2 separate regions of the Homo sapiens genome follow, and region 2 is linked to region 1. Evidence: promoter capture Hi-C in 16 types of primary human blood cells and fetal thymus (Javierre and others, 2016). All regions are on one chromosome and are shown on one strand. Each heading gives the region's core, a stretch centred on a gene start or on the middle of the fragment in contact. The rest is flanking DNA. Distances are from core to core; before and after follow the strand shown. Region 1 holds the start of KCNAB1-AS1 (KCNAB1 antisense RNA 1). Region 2 overlaps KCNAB1 (potassium voltage-gated channel subfamily A regulatory beta subunit 1).

Region 1 (5,402 bases), core at 1,882-4,381:
TGGCTATTCTTCTATGTCTCTGAGCAAAATCAGGTCAACATTTGCTTAATGAATTTGCTGGCTTACTTGCACTGTGGTGCAGAAGAGATTTTTTTAACTGTTAATGTCATCACAGGGGATAGCCCTATCTCTGCTTAGCAGTGAAGATTAGCCCAAAGTCCTGAGCTTTTTGCTGACTCTACAACTTATCTATATTTTTTGACTATTTTTCTATAGGTACAGTCACAAGTATTGCACAAATGTTTCATTTGTGAGCTTCTCTCCGTCCAGATAAAGGTAACTTTTTGGGAAATTCATTTGTAAAGGAATAATTTCATCTACTTTCCTACATTGAGATCAGTTTCCAGAAATGAAGATACCATAAAATTTATTCTCTAAAACTATGCCATTGAAAACCAAATTCTAAAAATGTTCTCAGACTTCAAACTTTATGAAAATGAAATAACATTATTTAGCTTACCTTTCTTATTTTTTGATAGCACCTATGTTGGGCTATGATTAGACATTATCAAACTGTAATGCAAAAACGGTACTGAAGTCTATTTGAAGTCTAAGTAGAGCAATGCTGAAAGCCAGGATTGTACACACATTTTGGAAGAGGTGATTCTAGATATAAGAACCATTTACAGTAGTAATTCCATCCATGTTAGGAAGAGCCTATGTTTAGGCTCGACTCCAAAATTAATCTGAAAAAAACCAACCACCCTCCTGGCATAAGTGTTTAAGGCTGCATTCTGTACATCACAGTGAAAAATACAGGGCCTGAAACATGTTTTGGTACAGAAAAAAAGATGTGAGGTTTCTGATTCCAAGTCAAAGCAGTAATGAATTATGAAATAAAAATATAGCAATAATTGTTTTCCTTTTTCAATGTTTTTAAAATTTAATATAAAATAGCATATGAATATTATATATATTTACATTATTACATACCTATTCCATAATTTAATAAGAATAAAGTGTTTGCTTCCATTTCTTGGAGTTTGTCATTCTTATATTCAGCTTATTTTGTTCATGATGACTACCTCCCTGGCCCTTCGACACTTGCTACTCATTTGTTTTCTACCTACTTGTTTATAGAGTTTATATCTTTTACTAGAGAGTAAGCTGTCTGAGGGCTACACTTTTATTTCATTCGTCTTTGCATCTCCACAGCCCTAGAATAGAAGTGGGTTCTTAGTACATGGTCAGTAAGTGTTGGTTAAATTGAATTACATTGCCTTGTTGACTGTTATTAATCTTTAAAATTTTGGGATAATTTCCTACCAAACAAACATCTTTATTATGACTTATAGAAAAATGAATATTTCCTACCAAACAAACATCTTTATTATGACTTATAGAAAAATGAATAATGCTTATCAATAATCTTTAGTTCTTCTAGTCTCTAGATGATTGAAATGTTTCTCCCTATCCCTGGGTACCCACCCAGCTATGCCCCTTTGTGGAAAAAGGCCAAGGGAAAGTCTTTCTCCTTGGCTGAAATGCCTCCAGCAAGCAGATGGGTAAGTGGCCCAGTGTAGGTGGGGTCCACTTTCTACTCCTGAGGAGGAGTTGCCTCTCACAGACAGGACACATCCCCTCCTGCTGGAGAGGAACGGGGCAACAGCCTTCTAGACAGAAGAACTCTGTTTCTATGATTTTATTTTCCACTGTGCTCCACTCCAGAAGAACTAAGGTGACTTGTTAGTTAATATGATTCTCAAAAACCCTCTGTGACAGTTTTCTTAACCATTTTTCTCCCTCTAATGAGAACATGCTTTCCTGAGACCTAGAATGGCATACAATTATTTCACTGTGTAATCTCAAATTAGTGGGATGTTATTTACAAGATGATTTTACTAAACTGACAATTGTTATTTCTAACCTTTTAAAAGAAGGGAGAGTATAAAGATAACTCTTTGAACTATTTTGTGTCTTCTGATTAAACCCCTTTATGGACCAAGGAATATTTGCTTTGAAAACCTGTGTTAGGTTCCTTGGAGTAAATCTACCATAGCACAGAAAAATGATGGATGAAAGGTAAAAAGAAGAAAACTGCCCACCACACACATCTATCTTGGTTACCTCATTATCGTTTGGTGATTATCAGGGTAATTACTTCTTGCGTACTCATTCAAAAAACATGTTTACCATTTAAATGACTGCCTTGCTTGGAGTATAAAGGATATTTAGACATTTAGATGAGATCATTTTAATATCTTACATCACCATAGTGCAATTATCAAAACCAGGGAATTAACATGGGTACAGTACTAATACAATAGATCTTTTTGGAATTTCATTGTCTTTTTTTCTCTTCCAGGATCTTAAGCAGCATCCAACATTGCATTTAATTGTATGTTTTCTTAATCCACTCCAATATGTGACACTTCCTCAGTCTTTCCCTGTCTTTCATGATGTAGACACTTTTAAAAGTACTCATCAAGTATTCTGTAGAATGTCCCTTAATTTGGGTCTAAATCATCTTAAGGTTATAAAATTCTATAGTGCAGGTTGGTCTCCCTATGGTTTGAATATATTATTATAGCTATCAAGAAGAGAATATGTAAATGCAATTATAATATTAATATTTATTATGCCACAGTTAACATTTCCTCACTTTTTCATTCAACAAGTATTTATTGAGTCTACCGTGTGCCAGGTGTTGTACTTAGTTTATTGGGATGCAACAGTGAACAAAACTGGTAATTATTTCTCCCATCGTGAAACAGATATATGGGTAAAGAAAAAGGAATAACAAAAATAAGTTAAATATATAGTGTTTATAAATGTTAATTTTACAAATAAATAAAATGTAAAATAAAATACATAATGTTGACTGATGAATGTTAGAGAATCAATTTTATAAAGCAGGGATAGAGTATATGAAATGTCTAGGAATCAGTATTGAAATTTTAGATAGGGTGGCCAGATAAGATTCACTAAGAAAGGAGCTTTCAAGAAAAGACCTAAAGAAAGTGAAGGGGCTCACCAGGCGCTTATCTGGAGGGAGAGTGTTCCAGTTGCAGGGAGCAGTGAGGTAGGGGCTTGCTCAACATGAGCAAGGACAAGGAGGAAGCCAGTGTGGCCAGAGAAGAGAAGGTGAGGTTCATGGGGGCCAGATCATGTCATGTCAATCATAGGAAGGACCTAGGAAAGGCTAGTGAATAATTTTGAATACAGAAGTGACACAATCTGACTTTCTTTTAAAAGGAACACTCTGCTATTGTGCTAAGGATAGACTGCAGAGGCGAGGCTGAAACATGGGGGACCAGTTAGGAGGCTGTTCCCATAATCCAGGTGAGACATGACAGTGGTTTGGTCCAAGGTGGTGGTAGTGAGGATGGCGAGGAGTGGTTGAATTTTGGATAAATTTTGAAGGGGAAGCAATAGTATTTACTGGTGTAAAAGGATGTGTAGGGTGTGAGAGAAGGTGAAACCTCTAGGAGAACACCAAGGTCAGAGTATGGGGAGAATGGAGAGCCAATTCAACACATTTCAATATAGATTTAATGATTTTAAGTTTGGTAAACAGAGCACATGTGAACTGCAGCTTAATATAGTCAAGACTGACCAAATGTAGTCATAATTGAGAGACATTTCATCTATTTTGAGGTGTTAATCTGTTACGTCACTAAAGAATTTAAGATAAGAGGTTCAAACCCTAGGTCACATTGAAATTAAGCAATACACCAGGTAAAATTAACATGTTCAATGTCTCAGTTGTATAGTATAACCCCCAAAGAGGAGTGGAACTGGAGGTGGGAGCATCCCTCTAAATTGCGTATCCAGCAAGAAATAGGTGTAAGCCCAAAACTAGAGTTGATGTGGAGGAGGGAGCCCTAAGCTGTTGGCCACCACCTGAGATCCTTAAGCTCCAGGTCATTACCCTGGTGAGCATGTTCTCCTTTGAGCTATGGGCTGAGCCTTCCACTGAAAATCTAAACCTTCCCCATGCCTTTATGTCCAAATTCTACTTATTTTTCAGGACCCAGAACTCCAGCTTCAGAGTCCAGTGCTGCTAAGCCATAGTTTCTTAGCACTTCCCCTGGTGAGTTAAAGTATGTCTTGCTACATCATTAGAATTTTTTAGGTTCTCTTGCATTAACTCTGTGACTCTGAGAAACCTCCAATCTCTTGATTTCTTGTTTCCTTATGCACAAAATTAGGAACCTTGAGCTTCCTTCATCTCTATTATTTCATGATTCTATGGTTTCTTTGAAAGGAGAAGAAGTCATTCCATTTACTCTTCTCCTACCATTTTGAACTAACTGCTATTACCATATTGACCACACTATATTGTAACCGCATAGTTTATTTTTGGCTGTGACTTCCTCATTAGACTGCAACTATCCTGAGATCAGGGACTAAGTTTAAGTTTAATTTAAATTTTAAATTTTAGCCATTGCACTGGAGCCTGGCACAGGGTAAGTGAGTAATAATTGCTTGTTCAATCAGTAAGCATTCTCACCCTTACTAAGAAAGTGTCTCTAACCAGAGAGCATTTGTGGAACGTTGGTTGTTTTCCTCACTATCTTCAACAAGAGGTTTTTAACCACAACTGCGCATTTGAATATCCTGGGGGGATATAAATGGTATTGCTGACCTGATTCCTCACCACACCCCAGTGAAATCAGAATTTCTGGGAGTGGAATCCTGGCATCAGTATTTTTAAAAGATCCTCAGATAACTCTAATTGCAGTCAGGGTTGAGAACCACAGTTTATATTCTTCTCATACCGGTAGCATCTCATCCTTTTCCTTTGTGCTTTGTTTTGGTTTTTGTTTCAGAGACAGAGTCTCGCTCTGTCACCCAGGCCTGAGTGCAGTGGCACAATCTGGGCTCACTGCAACTTCCGCCTCCCAGGTTCAAGCAATTCTCCTGCTTTAGCCTCCTGAGTAGCTGGGATTACAGGCGCGTGCCACCGTGCCCGGCCAATTTTTGTATTTTTATTAGAGACAAGGTTTCACCATGTTGGCCATGTTGGTCTTGAACTACTGACCCTGTGATCCGCCCACCGCAGCCTCCCAAAGTGGTGGTATTACAGGCGTGAGCCACAGCATCCAGCCCATCCTTTTCTTTACACCCTGACTTGCCTTTCTTCTTCTTTTACTCAATTGCTGCCATCTCTATTTTCCAGAGGTTAAATGACATGCCCAAAGTTTAAATAACTAGTAAGTGGTGGAGTAAAAGCTGGGATTTAAATCCAGCAGACATGCTCCTGCACCCTGGCAATCACGGGATGGTGTAGAGAGGGCACTGTTATTTCAATAAGAGAGGGAAGCTACATAGTTACCTTAACCTTCTTTATTTCATGCAGAATCAAAACAAAACAAACAGAACCAAATTCTTAGAAATCTGGCCTGAGGGGAAGGCCCATGATGGCGCTGGGATGTAAAGACAGGTAATGGAGGTGAGGA
Region 2 (5,402 bases), core at 1,170-3,669, 240 kb after region 1:
AAGATAATTGGCACAAAATAGAGTATTATTTAAAAACCAAAATCTAACACTTTATTTCAACAGCTGCAAATTTACAGTCCCTCAATTTCTAGTGCCTTCCAGGGACAGACAATGTCACGTCCTGCAAATTCTCTGATAGGCTCCTTGGTAAAAATAAATGAGAAACAGAAATTCCTGATTTTTTCTTGTGTAAGTCCTTTGCTTTTACTGAAACATTTTTTCCATATTTTTTCCAAGAAATAAAATACAAAAGGATTGAAATCTAAAAATATCAGAGCAAAGTTTTGCTACTTACATAGCCAAGCAGAAAATACTTAGGAAAAACTACAAGTCTCCTTCCTTCCCATCTTTTCATAAACGCTTACTGAATAACTATGATGTCCCCAGGTGGCTGTTATATGTTGAAATGCAAAGATAAATGTAAATAAACAAACTTTACCTATGCTGGGTTATCCAAAAAATGGTGGTTAGTCAGTTTCAGTTAGTTAACTTTTATTTGTTTTTGGCTCATGAAGAGTAGTTTAGAAGGCAGAACTAGCTTTAGCCTTGCCCTGATTTGGGGGTTCACTGATGTTTCTAGGCTCCTTCTCTCAACTCTTCCTCCTTAAAGTGCTTGTTTATAGCCTCAGGAAGGTTCTCCTTGTTGCAGGGGGATGGTCATAGGAATCTAAGCCTCATACCACCAAACCCAGAAGAGAAGTGATGTCTGTGTGTCACAACCACAGTATGGTTTTGGGTTCATGCTAATTGGACTGGCTCAGATCACCCTTGAGCCAGTCACTGGAGCCAGGAAAGTGAAATATTCTTAAGTCAGTGAGAGCCATCATTTGGGTTGAGTGTGAGGTCAAGCCAATCCCCATAACCTGACAATGGAGGAGAGACAGATCCCCAGGGATCTGAGAACCACTGGTCAAAGAAAGAGGGAATGAATGCTAGGGAACCATCATCAAATAAAGATACGTGCAAATGCTCCAGAGGCCAAAAACTGGGGAGTGCAAACTCCCCAAATGGGCTTGGTGATGTTTTACCTGATTCTTGAAGGTAGAATATGATAGGACAGTGCACAGTAATGTAGTAAAGGGGCAAAGGTGATCCCGGCAAACAAAACAGCATGTACAAGTGCACAGAGGCATAAAAGAGCATGACGTCTTCTAGGAACAACAGGACTATCCATGTGCCTGGACTGAAGGGCCTGGGGAAAGTCTCAGATTGCACAGATGATTGAGACCACTTTTTGCAATGGTAAAGATTTCAGTTCTTATCCTTAAAGGCATTAAAGCATCTAGTCAGGGTATTGACAAGGCCAGATCCATATTTTAGAAGTCAATGTAGGACAGACAATGGGGATTAGAGGAGGGCAGAGTCTAAAAGCACCTCTTCAGAGGCCACTGAATTTGGGGGCAAGAGATTATGTCTCAGTGCAGAGGAAGGAGCGGGTAGTTTAGGGAGAGAGCTAGGTGTTAGAAACAACTGGACTTGATGATCGATCGGACCTGACAACCAATGTATAGGGGAGAAAAGAAAATGAAAGTAACTGAATTTACCTGCATACTAACAAGGATGTTCTGTCCCATGCCAGGTGTTCCTACTGTTCATCTCATATTTTTTGTGCAAATTCACTTTTATATTTATTAACGCCATCAAATTCTATTACACCTGAAGCTTCCACTGGCTTAATTCACACATGCAAAGCAAAGTGGAATAGTGAAATAATTTCACTATTATTTATTGAAATAATAAATTCAAACCAAAAAATATTTTGGCTTAAATTAAAACACGGAAACCAAAAATTCATACCAAGGTGGATGTTTAAATGTTTTTTTCATTATCTGAATAACTGACTTATGGACACAGATATAGAACCAATATAGCTCAATCTATGAAAATTAAGCTTGAGAAAGGAAACTTGGAATTTTGCCTTCTCCGTGAAAATGTTCTTTCTAAGAATCCCTTCTTTACCCCAGAGTTGGCAAAGAAAAGAAGTCTTCTTACAATTATCTTTTCAAGTAATTTACAAAACTCACTTAATATAATTATCAATTGCCAAGGTATTTAAGAGATATATAATTTTTGTGTTGTACATGTTGGCTATTTGATAGAAATGTTTTCTCTTGTGTTTGAATACCACAATTTTTAAAAAAATAAGAAAATCAATTGACATCTGATTCGAGTCCATCATCCTAGCTGCCCAACTTAGCTTGCCCCTTATTTTTATTTATTTATTTTTGTTGTTGTTGTTATTGTTGTTGTTGAGACAGAGTCTCACTCTGTCGCCCAGACTGGAGTGCAGTGGCACAATCCGGTTCATTGCAACCTCCGGCTCCTGGGTTCCAACGATTCTCGTGCCTCAGCCTCCTGAGTAGCTGGGACTACAGGCATGTGCCACCACATCCAGTTAATGTTTTGTTATTTTTAGTAGAGATGGGGATTCACCATGTTAGCCAGGCTGGTCTCAAATTCCTGGCCTCAAGTGATCCACCCGCCTCGGCCTCCCAAAGTGCTGAGATTACAGGTGTGAGCCACCATGGCCGGCCAGCTTGCCCCTTATTTCTATTCAAATGGATAGAGATAGAGAATTTATGTCAGTTCTAAACAGAGGGAAGTGTCTCTTCTATATGCTGGTAACTTTGAAAATGCCTATAAGATAAAATACATGTAAGACTAGATTTTAAAAGGAGCCTACCAAACCCTGAGTCATAACCTAAAAAGTAATTTCCCACCTGGGAAGTTAGTGAATGAGACCCTGAGCCAAACCTCTACAAGTGACAGGAGCTGGAGACAAGAGAAGGCCATGCAGCGATGAGTAGGAGGGCAAATCTCAGTCCCGCCCCACCTGGGAGTGCATGGCTCCTAATAATTCAGTAAATATAGTGGTTGGAAAGTGCTCAGCTAACTTATGAATGTAATCGTCATAGAAAATAAACTTTTTTGGACAAGTGAAGCTTTCAGCCTTACAGCTTAAATAAACAATAGCTGTCTTCCTACTCCCACTGACATCTTGGTTTCTACTCTAAGCTCTTCTTTTCACCCTGTGCCCAGACCTGAAATATTGGAGAAAGACCCAAATAAGTATGATCTGGACCTATCTGCAGTCCCAGCAATGAGCAAAAGATGATTCCCCCTGATGCACAAATGAAAAACAATCACTGAATATATGAGTAATCACAGAAGTTTAGAAGAAGATCTGAAGAATCAAAGCAAGAAAGAATACAAAACTATAAAAGAGACTTGCTGAAAAGACAGAGTAAACTTTAGAAAATATTATTTCTGTAAGATTTGAAAAACATATATTTGATAGAAAGAATCTGGATTGGAAAAAATACTTTCAGATAAAAAACTAATTTACTTAATTTAAGAATATATCTTTGGCAGCAAATAGCCTTTGGGTACTGCAGAAAACAAACATGATTTGACGGCAGTATCAAAAAACTCTCCCAAGAGAAACATAACAATAACTTGTATTTAAGAATGTATGCATTCCTAGCATTCTGACAAGTATTTTGAACATGTGTTAACGTATTTCATTCTTTATAGTATTATTTTAAGCAAGTATTATTATTTTTATTACTATTCACATTTTATAGTTGGGGAAAACGGTCCATAGGAAGGTTAAGTATGTTGCCCAGCATCACATCATTAATAATGTGGGCTGGAGCTGAGTTTTAAACCCAATGCTATCTTACTCTAGAGCCCATGCTTTTGTTTCAGGAGTGAGCTCCTCTAGATCATCAAGAGACAGAAAGCATTTCTATGCTATCTAAATTATGCTAAATCAGAGATCAGCAAACTTTTATAGGACCAGAGAATAAATATTTTCAGCCTTGTGTACCATACAATCTCTATTGCAACTACTCAACCCTGCCACTGCAGTGGGAAAGCAGCCACAGGCAATACATTAATGGATGGTCATGAATATCTCCCAGTGAAATTTTATTTGTAAAAGCAAATGATGGGAATAATTTGTCATGTGGGTCATACCATAGTTTACCAACTGTGCATACAAAAGATGAAAAGATCATCTTTTGTGTGTATGTTAAAATATCACACCACTAATACCAAAACTTGTCAAAGATAATCTAAAAACTTTAAAAAATTATCTCACTATAACCCTAGCGGTAAAAACTACAAATACAATTTTTGCAAATTAAAACTTATAGCAAGTAAAAGACTACTACACAGTGACCAAGTAGAGTTTATTTCAGTAATGTAAGGAGGTTTTTACTCCAACTTTAAAAAATCTGTTATTAGTAGTAATCTAAATAAGTGAGATATTATTTATTCAGAATTTTTTTTCAGAATTCAACATTGATTTCCAATTTAAAAAATAATACCACTGGCACAGTAGGAATAAACAATATTACCTTAACATGACAGACAATATCTATGACCAAAAAACTGTTGACATTATAAATAAAACTATGATTAATATACTAAGGGCACTGAGTGGACAAAGTAGACAACATGCAAGAACAGATAGGTAGGGTAAGCAGAGAGACGGAAATTCTAAGAAAGAACTGAAAAGAAATGCCAGGGATTCCTGCTCCAAGATGGCTGACTAGACACAGCCAGAAAGAACATCTCCCACTGAGGGACAGGGACATTAGGAAGACTGGTGCACTCCTAGCAGATCGTTAGAGAAAAGGCGTTGAGAGTGGATGGAGGGAAGACACAGTTGCTGGGCTGAAGGAGGAGGAAGCCGAGAACACTGCAGAGGGCTACACCCAAGACTTGTTCCTGGCCCCCAGTGACTTCTGTGGAAGGGGTGAATGGGTAAGTTGAAGAGGCAAGAAGCAACCCACTCTCACCACAGGCCTCTGGAATCCCAGCAGGAGGAGACTCCTCAACCATGACAGACACTTGAGTTGGCAGGGAGAGCTGCTTAGAGAAGTGGTAGGAGCAGAACTCCAGCCAGTGTTGAGCCTAGAGGGTTTGGTGTGGAAGCATCTGTAGCAGAGCATGGCCAGGGACAGCCATCCCCACAGGCTCAACTTGCTCCCACAGGAGACTTTAGCCCCAGAGAAACTATTGTACCTGAACTCTGCAGGGCAGTCTTGCCAATGAGATGAGCCCTGTCTGACCTGAGAACCCCTTGGTCTGCTCGCCTCTGTGGGAGCCCCAGCCCAATTGTGCCTGCTTACAATAAAGCACCCAGATACCTCCTGGGGGCCTAGATCATAGCTCCTGTGCTGGCAAATGCACCTGACCAGCAGAATGCTCCAGCAAAGCAGCCCTCATGGACATGCACTAGCCTGCCTGAGCCCTCCCCACACCGCAGCCTCCCACATGCCACTTTACATACCTGCACTCACCAACGGCCACCTCTCATGTGTGTATGGATCCTTGCCTTCCCTTCTCCACCAGCATGAGTGTATGCATGCAGCCTACCATGCCACTGCTGCCGG

Evidence for each region. Contacts are between HindIII fragments. The CHiCAGO score rates a contact against its expected background, and 5 or more counts as called.
Region 2: a fragment that was not itself captured here is called in contact with the fragment with the promoter of KCNAB1-AS1 in region 1 in 1 of 17 cell types (endothelial precursors); the score reaches 7.1 in endothelial precursors.

The regions. Positions count from the first base shown.
Region 1 is chr3:156,444,665-156,450,066 of GRCh38, reverse strand. It overlaps KCNAB1-AS1 (KCNAB1 antisense RNA 1), which reads left to right and starts at 3,131. Exons shown (of 3, transcript NR_046618.2): 1 at 3,131-3,282; 2 at 3,971-4,033. The region is part of intron 2 of KCNAB1 (potassium voltage-gated channel subfamily A regulatory beta subunit 1); the gene reads right to left. LOC124906298 (a long non-coding RNA gene) reads left to right here. Exons shown (of 5, transcript XR_007096140.1): 5 at 217-972. The HindIII fragment of the contact is 8,289 bases long and covers 1-5,402 here.
Region 2 is chr3:156,201,681-156,207,082 of GRCh38, reverse strand. The region is part of intron 1 of KCNAB1 (potassium voltage-gated channel subfamily A regulatory beta subunit 1); the gene reads right to left. Among named protein-coding and RNA genes, the nearest start is that of KCNAB1-AS2, 24 kb to the left of the region's middle. The HindIII fragment of the contact is 1,051 bases long and covers 1,894-2,944 here.